5 separate regions of the Homo sapiens genome follow, and all the other regions are linked to region 1. Evidence: promoter capture Hi-C in 16 types of primary human blood cells and fetal thymus (Javierre and others, 2016). All regions are on one chromosome and are shown on one strand. Each heading gives the region's core, a stretch centred on a gene start or on the middle of the fragment in contact. The rest is flanking DNA. Distances are from core to core; before and after follow the strand shown. Region 1 holds the start of LONRF1 (LON peptidase N-terminal domain and ring finger 1). Region 2 overlaps XKR6 (XK related 6). Region 3 holds the start of LINC00529 (long intergenic non-protein coding RNA 529). Region 4 overlaps XKR6 (XK related 6). Region 5 overlaps FAM167A (family with sequence similarity 167 member A).

Region 1 (2,700 bases), core at 90-2,589:
GGTAATATAACTCTGTCTTTTCTGACGTTACACGACTTGTTGATTGTGTAGTGAAAACACATGAACTCAAAACATTTTTTAGCCTTAATTGCCTGTTCCTTATAAAGAGAAATATTAAACGTTTACCAATTTCATACATAGCATGCTCAGGTGAACTTTCCAATTAGCAACTTCTTTTACTTTGAAAATCTCATATATTTCTATGAAATATTACATATTTTATTAAATATTACATATTAGTCTAACGTAGTAGTAGTGGAATAGACGTGATCTTAAAATCTGTATTAGCTGTGTGATTTTTGACAAATAACTTTCCCTGTGTTTCCAATCATTTGAAAAAGGACTAAAAGTCCTAAGTGACTTCCAACATTAGCGATCTAATACCCTATCATCAAATCTGTATTTTCAGCTGAGAGCTTTAAACTTGCTGCTGTGAAGTTTAAGGGAAATAGCACCCATTATATATCAACCCGATCATTTTCTTCTGTCAGCAAAACTGCAGAGCCAGCTTGGGTTGTAGTAATACGGTGACCGCCATGTGAAACATGTTTCTTGGTGTTTTCTTTTAAAACTGCCAAATATAGACCTTAACCAGCTGTAAGGCAGTGCTTGAGGTGTGGAGACACCTGAGGAAGCTGTGGGCTTTCTCCCTCGAGGTGGGCCCACGATGAGTTTTAAGCAAGACGGGCAAGCAGTCACCTGGCACCAGGAAAAACTCCTTGCCCTCTGGAGGGAGTCGCCCCAGGAACGTGGGTTTTTTGTTCATATTTAAAGTTGAGTCCTCTAGAACCGAAGAGTCCCAGTCATCTGCCGAAGGTGCGCTCCCAGGCCCCCTGCTTGGGCGCGCCCACCTGGAACATGGGCGTAGAGCTATGAAAATGCAGACCCGCACAAGCGCGAGGCCACGCGGGGAGACCCCCGCCCGCCAGGAGTTGGGGCAGGTCCGGCCTGGGCGGGGGCGTCGGGGGAGGGGTGGTGACCCGGAGTCCCGCGCGGCAGGGGAGCGTCCCCCAACCCCCGGCAGGGGCGAGGGCCACCGCAGGTGGCGGCGTTGGCAGACAGGCAAGCGGGGACTGAAGCTCCGGGGTCCTTCCGGCTTTGTTCCGTCACGAGCCGAGCCCTCCTTTCCGGAGAAGCCAATTAGATCTCCGACGGAGGAATCATCCGACCTGCGTCCCCCACCCGGAGGGGGCTCGGAAGGGGCGGGGCCCAGCGCTTGGCTCCTCGGGAGCGCGGCCGCGGGCGGCGTGGGGGAGTCCCGGGCGCCGTCGCCGAGCCCGGCCCCGCCCTCGCCAGGCCCCGCCCTCGGGGCTTCCCGGGCGCGCGCAGCCCCGCCGTGTCCGCGCGCCACGCCCCCCTGCTCGCGGGCCGCGTGCGGAGCCGCGCGCCCGGGAGGCTCCGGGACCGTGGCGGCGGGCGGCGGCGGCGCAGCCCTCCGCGGGCCATGTCCTCTCCGGCGGTGGCGAGGACCTCCCCAGGAGGGAGTCGGGAGATGGCCCCAGCGCCGCAGGGCCGAGGCCGGTTCTGGGAAGTGGGCGGCGGCAGCGGCCATCGGCTGGAGCGCGCGGCCGCGGAGTCGGAGCGCTGGGAGCTGCTGCTCCGCCGCGGGGAGCTGCTGGCGCTGGGCGGCCACCTGAAGGGCGCGCTGGAGGCGTTCGCGGCGGCGCTGCGCCGCGGGGCCCCGGCCAGGCCCGAGTGCCTGGGCGCCCTGGTGGACTGCCTGGTGTTCAACTACCGGCTCCGCCACGGGCTGGGCTGGAGCGCGGCCCCGGTTGCAGGCGCTGACGGCGGCGCCGGCGGGCTCCTCAGATGCCTGGGCTGCCGGGGCTTCCTGAGCGAGCCGGTGACCGTGCCCTGTGGCCACAGCTACTGCCGCCGCTGCCTGCGGAGGGAACTCCGCGCCCGCTGCCGCCTCTGCCGGGACCGGCTGCCGCCCGCCACCGCCAGTGCCACTGATGCTGAAGGGACCGCCCCGCGGCCGCCGCCTCTGGCCGCCGCCATCGCCGCTTCAGACTTCAGAACCAGCGTCGTCCTCAACCACCTGGCCGAGAAGTGGTTTCCGGGCCAGCGCGAGCGGGCCCGGGCGGCCGGCAGGCTCGGGGAGCTACTGCACCAGGGGCGCTACCGGGAGGCCCTGGCCGCCGCCTGCGAGGCGCTGCGAGCAGGTGACCGCGCGGGGATGCGGCGGGGCCGGGCCGACCGCACCCTCCTGGCCCCGAGGGCCGGGGACCCGGAGCTTGTCTGCGCCCCGAGAGTCTCCTCTGCTTCCCCGGGGCCGCTGGGCCGCTGGCGTGTCGGGTCTCGGGGTGCTGGGGGGTGTGGGAGGGGGCGGCGCCCCGGGGTGCTTCGGTCATAATGGGGATCGCCCTGGGAGCCGACTGTGACGCGGCGCGGGGAGGGGCGCTCGGCGCGGGGTTCCCTCGGCCGCGGCCTGGCTGTCGGGCGCGCGCTCCCGGCGCGGAGTGGGTGACCTGGACCGAGGCCGCCCCGGCGCGGGATGGGTGGTAGCTGGGCTATCCCGAGCGGCCGCTCGCTTCCTGCCGCGCGCTTTCCGGGAATTGGCTCTCGGGCCGGGCCCGCCGCGGGGAAACGACTGCCGGGGCGGGGAGAGAATCCCCCGCGAGGGCAACTAGGCCGGGCAGGCGGCGTCTCCCTTCCTCACCCACAAAAGTCACCGGGACAATTGGGAACCGCGGGAGG
Region 2 (2,700 bases), core at 180-2,679, 1.6 Mb after region 1:
TTGTCTGCTCATATTTTGCGTTTCCTGAGTGTCTCTTGCAGGTGTCGTTTGCACTCTGTATTTCTAGTAAACTTGAAGTTGCATCTAGGGGCTGAATTACATTCAGGCACAAATTTTTGTCAGAAGTACTGCTTTCTTCATGTTGGCATCATATCAGTAGGCGCCCCATACGTGTTTTGTCCCACTATTAGTGATGCTAAGTTTTATCCCTTGGTTAAGGTTGCGACTGCCAGATTTCTTTATATAAAGGTAGTTTTTCCCTTGGCAATCGGTAGGTAACTTGTGGGGTCATATGTTAGCAAAGTATCAGTGTCTCTTTTCCTAAATACCGTTTACCTTATGGTTTTAGTGTCTTTTGGGAATCCTTGCCGGAATCAATTATTAAGTAGTTGTTGTTGGTGGGTGTATGTGTTTTAAACAGGCTCCCTGGTAATTCTAACCTTTAAGGTTTGATAGCCACTGCTGTCCTATTAATAGAACTAGGAGCTGAGTTATCAGGTCTGTTGAATGGGTTGCCAGTAAACAGTTAATGAGTTTAAGCTTCGTGTTCATTTTAGAGAAACTAAGATCAATAAAGTGCCTCCTAAGGCCCCCTATGTCCTAGTTTAGTTGTTGGAGAGGACATGTGTGTGATACTTGCAGTAAACTTGAGGTGAGCCCTGCTAGTGTGTTAGAATGTATGACAAAAATCCAAGGAGAGTGGAGGAGGCGTAGAGAAATTACTAAGGAGGAAAGGAAACTATATTGAATATTCTGTTTATATATATAGTCTCACTTAATTTTCACAAGCATTTTGTGCCCATTTTACAGATGAAGAAGTGAGCTTAAAGTGATAAAGTAACCTATGGCACTGGTGGAGGAAACTTTTGAAGCCAGAGCTCACAGAGCTGTGGGCGGGACAGAATTAGTTTGCTTTACCTCTGGGACGTTGTTGTCTGGCTTATTGAAGATGGAGGAATGATATTCTTCAACCTCTGGGGCCTCTTGGTATATAAGCTGAGGTTCTTTGAGACCTCTGATGTCTAGTCTAATGTGTTAATATTAAACTCTGCAGAGCTTAGGGTAGGCTTGTAAGTCTTGTAGTTGATTGTAACTGCTGATGAATCAAACAGCTGAGTAATATTAATACCTCTGGGTCTGTGTCTTAGGACACAGTTTTCAGTACCTCACTCCATTCTCTTTCTCAGGGTAGATGCACCTTACAACCCCGTGACTTCCACATTACACAAAGGAATATGTAGGTTTGGCATACCCCACAGGTCCCATGTAAATACTGCACTCAAATATGTTGGTTCTCTGTTGACCTGTTGGAAACATTGAGAACAGCAGTTGTATCCCAAGGATATAAAGAAGCTGTTTTCTTTTCTTTTCTTTTATTTTCCTTTCTTTTCTTTTCCTTTCCTTTCTTTTCTTTTCTTTTTTCTTTTTTCTTTTCTCTTTCTTTCTTTCTTTCTTTTCTTTCTTTCTTTCTTTCTTTTCTTTCTTTTCTTTCTTTCTTTTTTTTTGGGACAGTTTCACTCTTGTTGCCCAGGCTGGAGTGCGGTGGCGCGATCTCGGCTCACTGCAACCTCTGCCTCCTGAGTTCAAGTGATTCTTCTGCCTCAGCCTCCCACGTAGCTGGGATTACAGGCATGAGCCACCATACCCGTCTAATTTTTGTACTTTTAGTAGAGAAAGTGTTTCACCATGTTGGTCAGGCTGGTCTCGAACTGCTGACCTCAGGTGATCTGCCCTCCTTGGCCTCCCAAAGTGCTGGGATTACAGGCGTGAGCCACTGCACCCGTCCAAAGCAGCTGTTTTCAAACCTTGGCTGTGCATCAGAATCACTTGAGGAGCCAGATATTTGAGATCTACCATAAGAGACTGTAATCCAAGAGATCTGGGATGGGCCCAAGAATCTATATATTTAAAAAATCTAGGTTTTCAGAAAGTTCCCTAAGCAGTACACAGACAGGGATGAGAAGCATAGTTGTACAGGCTGATTTCTGCCAATATCTATGAGTTAGTTATCAAGGAGAAGGAGCATATGTTAGAATTGCTTGGGAATTTGTTTTTTGTTTTTGGTAAACTTTTTATCACTAGGCATCTTAGATTTAGAGGGGCGGAATGGATAAAAGAAGGTCCTCAGGTGATTCTAATGGATTACCAGTATTTAAACAATCTGAATGGACCTTTTAGCTGGAGTGGCTTGGCAAAAAGTCTGTATTAACCAAAGAGTTGCTGTTGCCATATATTATGCCTGGATTTAGAATGCAGGAAAGACATTTAACATTAAAATTATGACATATAATTGAGGATTCCTTTGATCCAAAAGCTTCTTTCTTTGGAAGTTTGAAGTATTTCAAGGTCATTATTATGAACACAGATGATCCCCATTGGTGCTCAGAAGTGCCAGGTTAGAGGCATTTTATTATGCTTGGAAATTGATATTTCAATCCAGTGAATTTTGTGTCTCAAATTCAGAAATGTTATATTTGTTGTAATCAGTGCCAAGGATAAGATTCCTAAAAAGAAACTGGTGAATGAAAGAGGAGACATGACCTAATAGATACTGAGTGTCATTAGAGACAGGAAAGAAGGGAGCAGAGAAGAAAAATGGCCTACCTACATTTTGCTTGATAGATTCGTGGGGAGAACAGCCAGGAGAGGGGATGAGGGGGAGTTGGATGGTGTTTACTGGTAAGATATTAGTGTGGCACA
Region 3 (2,700 bases), core at 152-2,651, 1.5 Mb after region 1:
TCCGGGCGGAAGCAGCAGGTCTCGAAACTCGGAAGACGCGGAAGTCGCAGCCGGAAGTTGGTCCTCGCTAGGTCCTCTGGAAATGCCTCCGGAAACACAGCCAGACCAGAAGATGTGTGTTCCTACGAGAAAAAAAGCTTGTCTTTGCCTTCACGCCCTCCCGCTGCCTTTCTTAACCACCTACAAATATTCCTTATCAGAAGAGGTCCGGGAAGAGGGAGGAGGTCCCTGTCTTGCCTTCCTCCGCTTGAGTAGTATCCCCTCCAGAAGCTCTTCAGAGCGTGGGGCTGCTGTAAATTGTGATAATTGTTATGCATTAGCCCTGAAGACATGGCAAGTAGGGGATGGAGGCGGTGACTGTGACCTTACGGAATCCTCCAGGGGTCAGGGAGGGACACAGGGCCACTCCACAGGCTCTCCGAGAGCGCCGCGCCACGAGGTGTAACCTGGAGCAAGAAAGAGGAAAAACAGGAATACCTGTGAGAGGAACCCAAGTACATGCAGTGCACAGAAGAGCAAGTCACTTGACTTGCTGGCGGCCACCCCGTTAATCTGCAGCAGAGCCTGGACTTCAGTCTGCATCTGTGAAACCCAGCGCATGGGTGCGTTGGTCACCACCGCACAGCCTCCCCGTCAGACACCCACGTTTCGCCAAAAATTTATTCAAATAATTACTCCTTTGCTTGTTCCTTTCCCACCGCCCACTTCTGACATTTTTATTCAAAAGTAGGAAATAGAAGAGAAATATGTTTGAGTGCTGGTCTGCTGTGACTTCATTGACCTTTTAAATCCTCACCATCTAGTACCTAAGCACAGCGAGTTGGACAAACTCTCACAGTATTCACAAAGTAAATTGCCACAACCTCATCAGCTCATCCAACACTTGTCCATGCTTTTGATTTTGTCCTTCTTAAAATGTACCCTTCTTAAAATAAACCACTTTATAGACTTGTTTTAAGTGAGATACGTAAATGCCTACCAACTTTCCTTGGTGTCTTTGTTGCATAGTTACTGTAGACTGAATAATAGTTGCCATTTTTTATATTTTTGCAGTTTAATTGCTTTCGTCCAAATAGATGGAATCACTTCCTTTGTAATATATGAAGTGTTTTAATTCATTTTTATAACTAGCATTCCTGACAGCACAGGTATCCACCCCCTGAAGTTCCCATTCTATAGAACAAAATAGCAAATAAGTATTTTTTTTTTGTTCCATAATGGACACCCAGTATACACCCAGTATACACAGGGACACCGCATACAGGGAATCAGCTTTATTTTACAACAGAGCTTCACTTTACCCCTCTGGCAATTAATAGATTCTGGGTATTTATTAAGAACTTTAAATTTAATGCAAAGACTGTTAAATACCACCAGCTCAGCTCTGGCAAAGGACTGTTGGCTTTGTTTATCTCCTATCTTCATCCAGATACACTGCCATCCCTATCCCAGCCCGATCTTGGGTCCTTGAAAAAAATGACCTATCATTCCAACTACCAGGGAGGAACTCCCTTTGAATTAATGAATCTGGATGACTTATAAGACTTCAAAAGTATGGAAATGACAAAGGTTAAAATGACAGGATGAGCAGTAAACCCTCTCCAGTCCAATCAGAGCAACCTTTTTGAGGGTGCATTCCCACAGAAACCCATTAGGGGCCCAACATCAACATACACAGAGCTAAAATTCCAGATGCCACTTTGTATTGAAAGAAGCCAAAATTCTGTTCAGGTCGTGGGAACTTGAAGTCTTCAATGCAACCACACCCCAGAAATTAACCCTCACACAATCATGTAAGCTATGCAATTAACCAAACTGCATCGTTTAGAAAACCTGTATGCTTTTCATGGAAACCATCCCTAGTTAAGGGCACTTTAAAGGATGCACAGTCTAAGTACTGTGAAGGTGGGCCCACTAGCTGGGTTGACATTTTCGCTTGGCCACTTTAGTAGGAAACTTAACCACTTGGGAAAGTGAAAACAACAAGCTAACCCACATGTTCACCATGGAAAACAATTTTTGTCTTGAAAAACAAGGAACCTTTTCCCTGTGCAGCACCAGTTCCTACTGTGTTTACCAGCCAATTGGACTGGAACCTGTACACTTGGTTTTTAGCCTCCGAAATCAATATAGCTCCCGGCCGGGCGCAGTTTCTCACGCCTATAATCCCAGCACTTTGGGAGGCCGAGGCAGGCGGATCACCTGAGGTCAGGAGTTCGAGACCAGCCTGGCCAACATGCTGAAACCCTGTTTCTACTAAAAATACAAAAAATTAGCCGGGTATGGTGGCGCACACCTGTAATCCCAGCTACTCTGGAGACTGAGACAGGAGAATCACTTGAACCCTGGAGACAGAGGTTGCAGTGAGCCAAGACTGAGCCACTGTGCTCCAGCCTGGGTGACAGAGGGAGACTGTCTCAAAACAAACAAACTATATATATATGTGTATATATATATATATATTTAGAGAGAGAGAGGGAGAGCTCTCAACAACCAATCCCTCATTATACCTTTAACTGCAACCGCCAGACACAAATGAGCAATCCAACTCAAACGCCTTTTTGTTGGGCTAGGAATAACAGTGAGAGCAGGAACGGGAGTTACCGGGCTTGCAACTTCCCTATACTGTTACCAGCACTTTCCAAGGATTTTGTGGAAAGCTTGGATGACATTGCCCAAAGTATCGTCACAACACAAACT
Region 4 (2,700 bases), core at 20-2,519, 1.7 Mb after region 1:
CTCAATTAATGGATGGGGACATTCCCACCAGCAACACAGATCCGGGGCCAGATCTAGGCACTGCAATTTTTAAAAAGGGGGCGTATTATATTATGTGTCTCAATGAATTTGTGGCAACAAATTGCTGGTACAAAGACAGTTAAGTCCTTTGCCATCTGGAACCCACCTCTGCCAGGCTGACCCAGACAGAGTCCCTAGAGGCAGCTGGGGAAACCTAACACATATCTCAAATAAACATGAGAGCCGGCATCCTGAAGCTTCACCTCTGTGGCCCTCAGGGTTCATGTTCTTAGATCTCACTTTGTGATGGGCTAAAGTAAACCTTCCTCCTGTCTCTCCTCTCCTCTCCTTAAAGGAGAAACCTTTAGAAAACCACATGGTGGTGAAGGTCAGCCTCCTCAGCCTCATCTTAGAGACCATGGGCAAGTCCTTCAACCTGTCCAAGCCATGGTGCCCTTGTCTGTACAATGAAGATATAGATGGTATCTGCTCTTAGGGTCACTATGAGGATTAAATGCCTCATGGTGTTAAGGGCTTAATACATGTTAGCTTGGAAACTCCTGTTCTCATCTGAGCTTGGCACCCAACCTGCTGTGTGACCTTGGGAAATTCACTTCCCCTCCCTGGGCCTCGTTTCATCTTCAAGCCGAAGGATAAGGCATGTCTACAGGCAAATATCTTGTTAGAGCTCTCATGACTCTTACATGCCAAGATACTACAACTTGGCAAGACACCACCTTTTTCCTTGGGGTATCTGGGATGTCAGCAAGGCATTGGACGAAAAGTGTCCTGAAAGTGCAGAAGCTTGTTAGAATGGAGTTGCATTTATTATGGCCATTGATTAGACATGGCCTGACATGGGATAAAATGTATTAGTTTGTGGCAGTTAATGAGCTGTTAGTGTACTTCTGGATGTGTTACATCGGGGCCAGGATGAATCCAAAGAAAAGATTAAAACAAGATTAGCCCAGAAAAAAGGAGGGGATGCAGATTGGAGGAAAAGGAGAGGACAGTGGAGGGGGCCTGCAAGCTAGGGGGAGGTGAGGGGGGCACTTTTTCTATAGTTTACATTTCCCAGCTCTTTTCCTCCCCCATGGTACTGGAAATGTCTGGGTAGACTAGGGATGTAGCCAGGGACTGCTGTCGATGGTGATGGTGATGGTGATGATAATAGCAGCCGTAACAACTACACTCACAATGATAGATACTAACAGTTATTGAACTCCTGCCACATGCAAATGGTGTTATGAACACTTTACATGTATTAACTCATTCAGTTTTTCTTAAGATATAGGTGCTGTCATTATCCCCATTTTACAAATAAGAAATGGAGAGCCAGAAAGGTTAGGTAACTTGCCAGGTTAAATTTATCTGCATAGCAGTTCCCTAGCAGCTGAGGTCCCAAAGGGGCTTGGGGGTTCATTACTGCCCCTTCTGTCCCCATGCTGGCTGTCAGGGCTGGGGAGTGGGGTGGGGTCCTGTGACCTGAATGACAGATGAGTGGTAGCTTCTGCAGTGCTGGCCCTGGGCACAGTTGAGGTAGGCGGACTCCTCCATCTGCTTAGATGGGGACTGCGAGGCCCTGCCTGTTGTGTCCCAAATTCTCCTCTTCAGAGTCCTTAGTGGGGCTGAGAATAGCTCAGGGCTCCTGTCACAGACATGTGGACACCCCACCTGTGGAAGCATTTTGGCTCATTTGTTCCCTGCCACCTCCTGCACCATCTCCAAGCTTGTGGCTTCCAGCAGGTGCACACCTGAGCTGCCACACTGCACTGGCCTCCCTCCCTCATGCTATCCCCCTCCCCAGTGCCATGTGCTGCCCTGCAGTGGACCCAGAAGCAAGTCCCAGCTCTTAGCTCAATGGCTTCTGCCTGAAATATTCTTCTCCTGTCACTCCCACAACCAGTTCCCTTCCTCCTTCAGCTCTTTACTCAAACATCTTTTGAGGCCTTCCCGCATCGCAGCCTCTGTCCCCAGGCATTCCCTGTCCCTTTCCCTGCTCTATCCTTCTCTGCAACACTTATTGCCATCTCTATTACTTACCTATTTGTTTGCTGTCTCTTTCGTGTTAGATTAAGTTCCACATAGCCAGAGGTTTTTGTCCTGTTTCTTCTCTGCTGTTTTCTTAGTGTCTGGAATAGACGTGGCACTTAGAAGAAACTCTGTAAATATTTGTTGAATGAATGAATGAACAAATAAAAAATGAAGGAAAATGTTCAGGACCCTCCTCAGCCTGGTGCTCACCTGCTTTCCAGCCTCGTCCGCTGTGTACCTGTACCCTTCTGGTGACAGCCTATCCACTCTGTCACTGCAGAGCAGGATGCCACCTCCCCCGGGAAGCCTTGCTGGCCACCCCAAGAAGGGCTTCCTTTCTGGTGGTTCCTGTGCCTCTCCTGCGTGCTGTGTGATGGCACTGATGTCACTGTATTGTTGAAATGCTTGTTTCTGTGCTAGTCCATTCCTGTAGGTGGGGACTCCTTGAAGCAGGGACAGTGATGTAGGGAAAGGAGCATGAGTTTGGAGCCAAGTTCAAATCCCAGCTCTGCTGATGACTGCTGTAGGACTTCAGGCAAGTTACTGAGCTGGCCCAAGCCTCAGCTTTCTCATCTGTTAAACAGGGATAATAATAATCTTGACTGATTGGGTTGCTGAGAGATGCGGAGACAATGTATACAGTGTGCTCAGCAAAATACCTGGCAT
Region 5 (2,700 bases), core at 114-2,613, 1.3 Mb after region 1:
TGAGGGCCAAAGACAAGGACAAAGGGCCAGATGGACTGCCCAGAAAGTCCTCTTCATTCATTCATGTACCCACTCTCTTACTCAGCAAGTTTCCTGAGCACCCGCTGTGTGCCGGGCACTGCTCTGAGTGCCGGGGTCACAGTCAGGAACAGAATTCGGAAGCCCCTGCCTGCTAGGAGCTGGCATCCTCAAGGGTGGGACACACAGACACCAACAAACATCACGGAGTAAGTGATGAGCTCCGGAAGCACCAGGAAGGCGAGCGCTGGGCTCCATCCTGTGGCCCAGGCTGGGGTTTGCGTGGAGATGAGGTTCAAGCAGAACCAGGCATGAAGCAGCCAGCATATGACATTGTGGCACAGCATCAATGTCCTTCAGAAGAGACTGCCGAGTTCTCACAAGGGTGTGCAGCAGGGAGGGGAAACCCCGGCAGCAAACAGGAGGCTTCCAGGAAGGGGGAAGGCTAGTGCTGTCCTGGCTGGACATGTGCCAGAGGGAATGCTTACCCGGCAGGGTAGACCACAGGGGTGCTTGGAGAAAACCCCAGGAGCGCTGTCCTGTGGAGCCCTGATCCCACCCACACCCCTAACCCAGCCCCGCCCACTTCCCCAACCCAGCCCCGCCCATTTCCCCAACCCAGCCCCGCCCACTTCCCCAACCCAGCCCCACCCACTTCCTTAACCCAGCCCCGCCCATACCCCTAACCCAGCCCCGCCCACTTCCCTAACCCAGCCCCACCTACATCCCTAACCCAGCCCCGCCCACTTCCCTAACCCAGCCCCGCTCATACCCCTAATCCAGCCCCACCCACTTCCCGAACCCAATCCCCCCATTTCCCTAACCCAGGGCCCAACTCACTTCCCTAACTCAGCCCTGCCCACTTCCCTAACCCAGCCCCACCCACGTCCCTAACCCAGCCCCACTCACTTCCCTTAGCCAGCCGCACTCCCCTAATCCAGCACCACCCACGTCCTTCACCCAGCCCCGCCCATGTCTCTTACCCAGCCACACCTACATCCCTAACAGCTCTGCACATGTCACTAACTCAGCCCTAGCCATACCCAGAGCACACACCCAATAGAGCAACCACCTCACACTCGTATATTCACACACCTAGCAGGGCAGCTACCCACACTCTCACACTCATCCACCCAGCAATGCAACCACCCCCCACACTCACACTCACACACCCAGCAGGGCAGCCAGCCCCCACACTCACACTCACACACCCATCAGGGCAACCACCCCCCAAGCACTCACACATACAGCAGGGCAAGTACCCACACTCACACACTCATACACCCAGCAAGGCAACCACCCCCCACACTCACACACACACCAGGCAGGGCAACCACCCCACACACACACCCAGCAGGGCAACCACCCCACACTCACACCCATACACACCCAGCAGGGCAACCACCTCACACTCACACTGATACCCACAAGGCAACCAACCCTTACACTCACACACACAGCAAGGCAACCACCCCCCACACTCACTCACACTCACACAGCAAGGCAACCACCCCCCACATTCACACACACACACAGCAAGGCAACCACCCCCCACATTCACACACACACACAGCAAGGCAACCACCTCCCACATTCACACACACACACAGCAAGGCAACCACCTCCCACACTCACACTCACACACAGCAAGGCAACCACCCCACACTCACACTCATACCCAGCAGGGCAACCACCCTACACTCCCACTCATACCCAGAAGGCAACCACCCCCCACACTCACTCACAGCAAGGCAACCACCCCACATTCACGCACACCCAGCAGGGCAACCACCCCTCACACTCACACTCACACTCTGCAAGGCAACCACCCCACACTCACACTCATACCCATAAGGCAACCAACCCTCACACTCACACTCATACACAGCAAGGCAACCACCCAACACTCACACAACCCCAGCAGGGCAACCACCCCCAATACACTCACACTCATGCACAGCAAGGCAACCACCCCCGACACTCACACACTCATACACCCCGCAGAGCAACCATCCCCCACACCCACACTCACATTCACACACAGCAAGGCAACCACCCCCAACACTCACACCCAGCAGAGCAACCACCCTGCACACTCACACTCAGGTGAGGCAACCATCCCACACTCAAACTCAAAGCAAGGCAACCACCCCCCACACTCAGACTCACACACCCAGCAGGGCAACCACCCCACACACTCACACTCACACACCCATCAGGGCAACCACTCCCCACACTCACACATACCCAGCAGAGCAGCCACCCCCCACACTCACACACACCCAGCAGAGCAGCCACCCCCCACACTCACAATCACACTCACGCAAGGCAACCATCCCACACTCACACTCCTCACACTCATACACAGCAAGGCAACCACCCCCCACACTCACACACACCCAGGAGGGTAACCACCCCCCCCAGACACACACAGAGCAAGGCAACCACCACCCACACTCACACAGCAAGGCAACAACCCCACCACAGTCACACACACACACAGAGCAAGGCAACCACCACCCACACTCAGCAAGGCAACAACCCCACCACAGTCACACACACACACACGCACACACACATATCCCAGCAACCCATCCCTGCCACGTGCAGCACTGGGGCCGGGGTCAGGTCTCGGCAGGATGTCATCTCCATGTCAGGGCTCCTGACACCGGCTCTGACCAA

Evidence for each region. Contacts are between HindIII fragments. The CHiCAGO score rates a contact against its expected background, and 5 or more counts as called.
Region 2: a fragment that was not itself captured here is called in contact with the fragment with the promoter of LONRF1 in region 1 in 1 of 17 cell types (naive CD8 T cells); the score reaches 5.3 in naive CD8 T cells.
Region 3: a fragment that was not itself captured here is called in contact with the fragment with the promoter of LONRF1 in region 1 in 1 of 17 cell types (total CD4 T cells); the score reaches 6.4 in total CD4 T cells.
Region 4: a contact is called between a fragment that was not itself captured here and the fragment with the promoter of LONRF1 in region 1, in 1 of 17 cell types (naive CD8 T cells). The highest score is 5.5, in naive CD8 T cells.
Region 5: a fragment that was not itself captured here is called in contact with the fragment with the promoter of LONRF1 in region 1 in 1 of 17 cell types (monocytes); the score reaches 5.1 in monocytes.

What each region holds. Positions count from the first base shown.
Region 1 is chr8:12,754,165-12,756,864 of GRCh38, reverse strand. LONRF1 (LON peptidase N-terminal domain and ring finger 1) reads left to right here and starts at 1,339. Exons shown (of 12, transcript NM_152271.5): 1 at 1,339-2,165. The coding sequence starts at 1,445. RefSeq lists silencers at 841-1,510, 1,591-1,930, 1,934-2,124, 2,021-2,560, 2,611-2,690 and an enhancer at 1,046-1,865. The HindIII fragment of the contact is 11,195 bases long and covers 1-2,700 here.
Region 2 is chr8:11,188,961-11,191,660 of GRCh38, reverse strand. The region is part of intron 1 of XKR6 (XK related 6); the gene reads left to right. Among named protein-coding and RNA genes, the nearest start is that of XKR6, 12 kb to the left of the region's middle. The HindIII fragment of the contact is 1,774 bases long and covers 543-2,316 here.
Region 3 is chr8:11,281,753-11,284,452 of GRCh38, reverse strand. LINC00529 (long intergenic non-protein coding RNA 529) reads left to right here and starts at 422. Exons shown (of 5, transcript NR_170283.1): 1 at 422-602. RefSeq lists enhancers at 1-153, 429-488, 579-668. The HindIII fragment of the contact is 2,523 bases long and covers 140-2,662 here.
Region 4 is chr8:11,010,966-11,013,665 of GRCh38, reverse strand. All of the region lies in intron 1 of XKR6 (XK related 6), which reads left to right. Among named protein-coding and RNA genes, the nearest start is that of MIR598, 23 kb to the left of the region's middle. The HindIII fragment of the contact is 925 bases long and covers 807-1,731 here.
Region 5 is chr8:11,455,026-11,457,725 of GRCh38, reverse strand. All of the region lies in intron 1 of FAM167A (family with sequence similarity 167 member A), which reads left to right. Among named protein-coding and RNA genes, the nearest start is that of FAM167A, 10 kb to the left of the region's middle. RefSeq lists silencers at 609-668, 819-918. The HindIII fragment of the contact is 4,689 bases long and covers 1-2,700 here.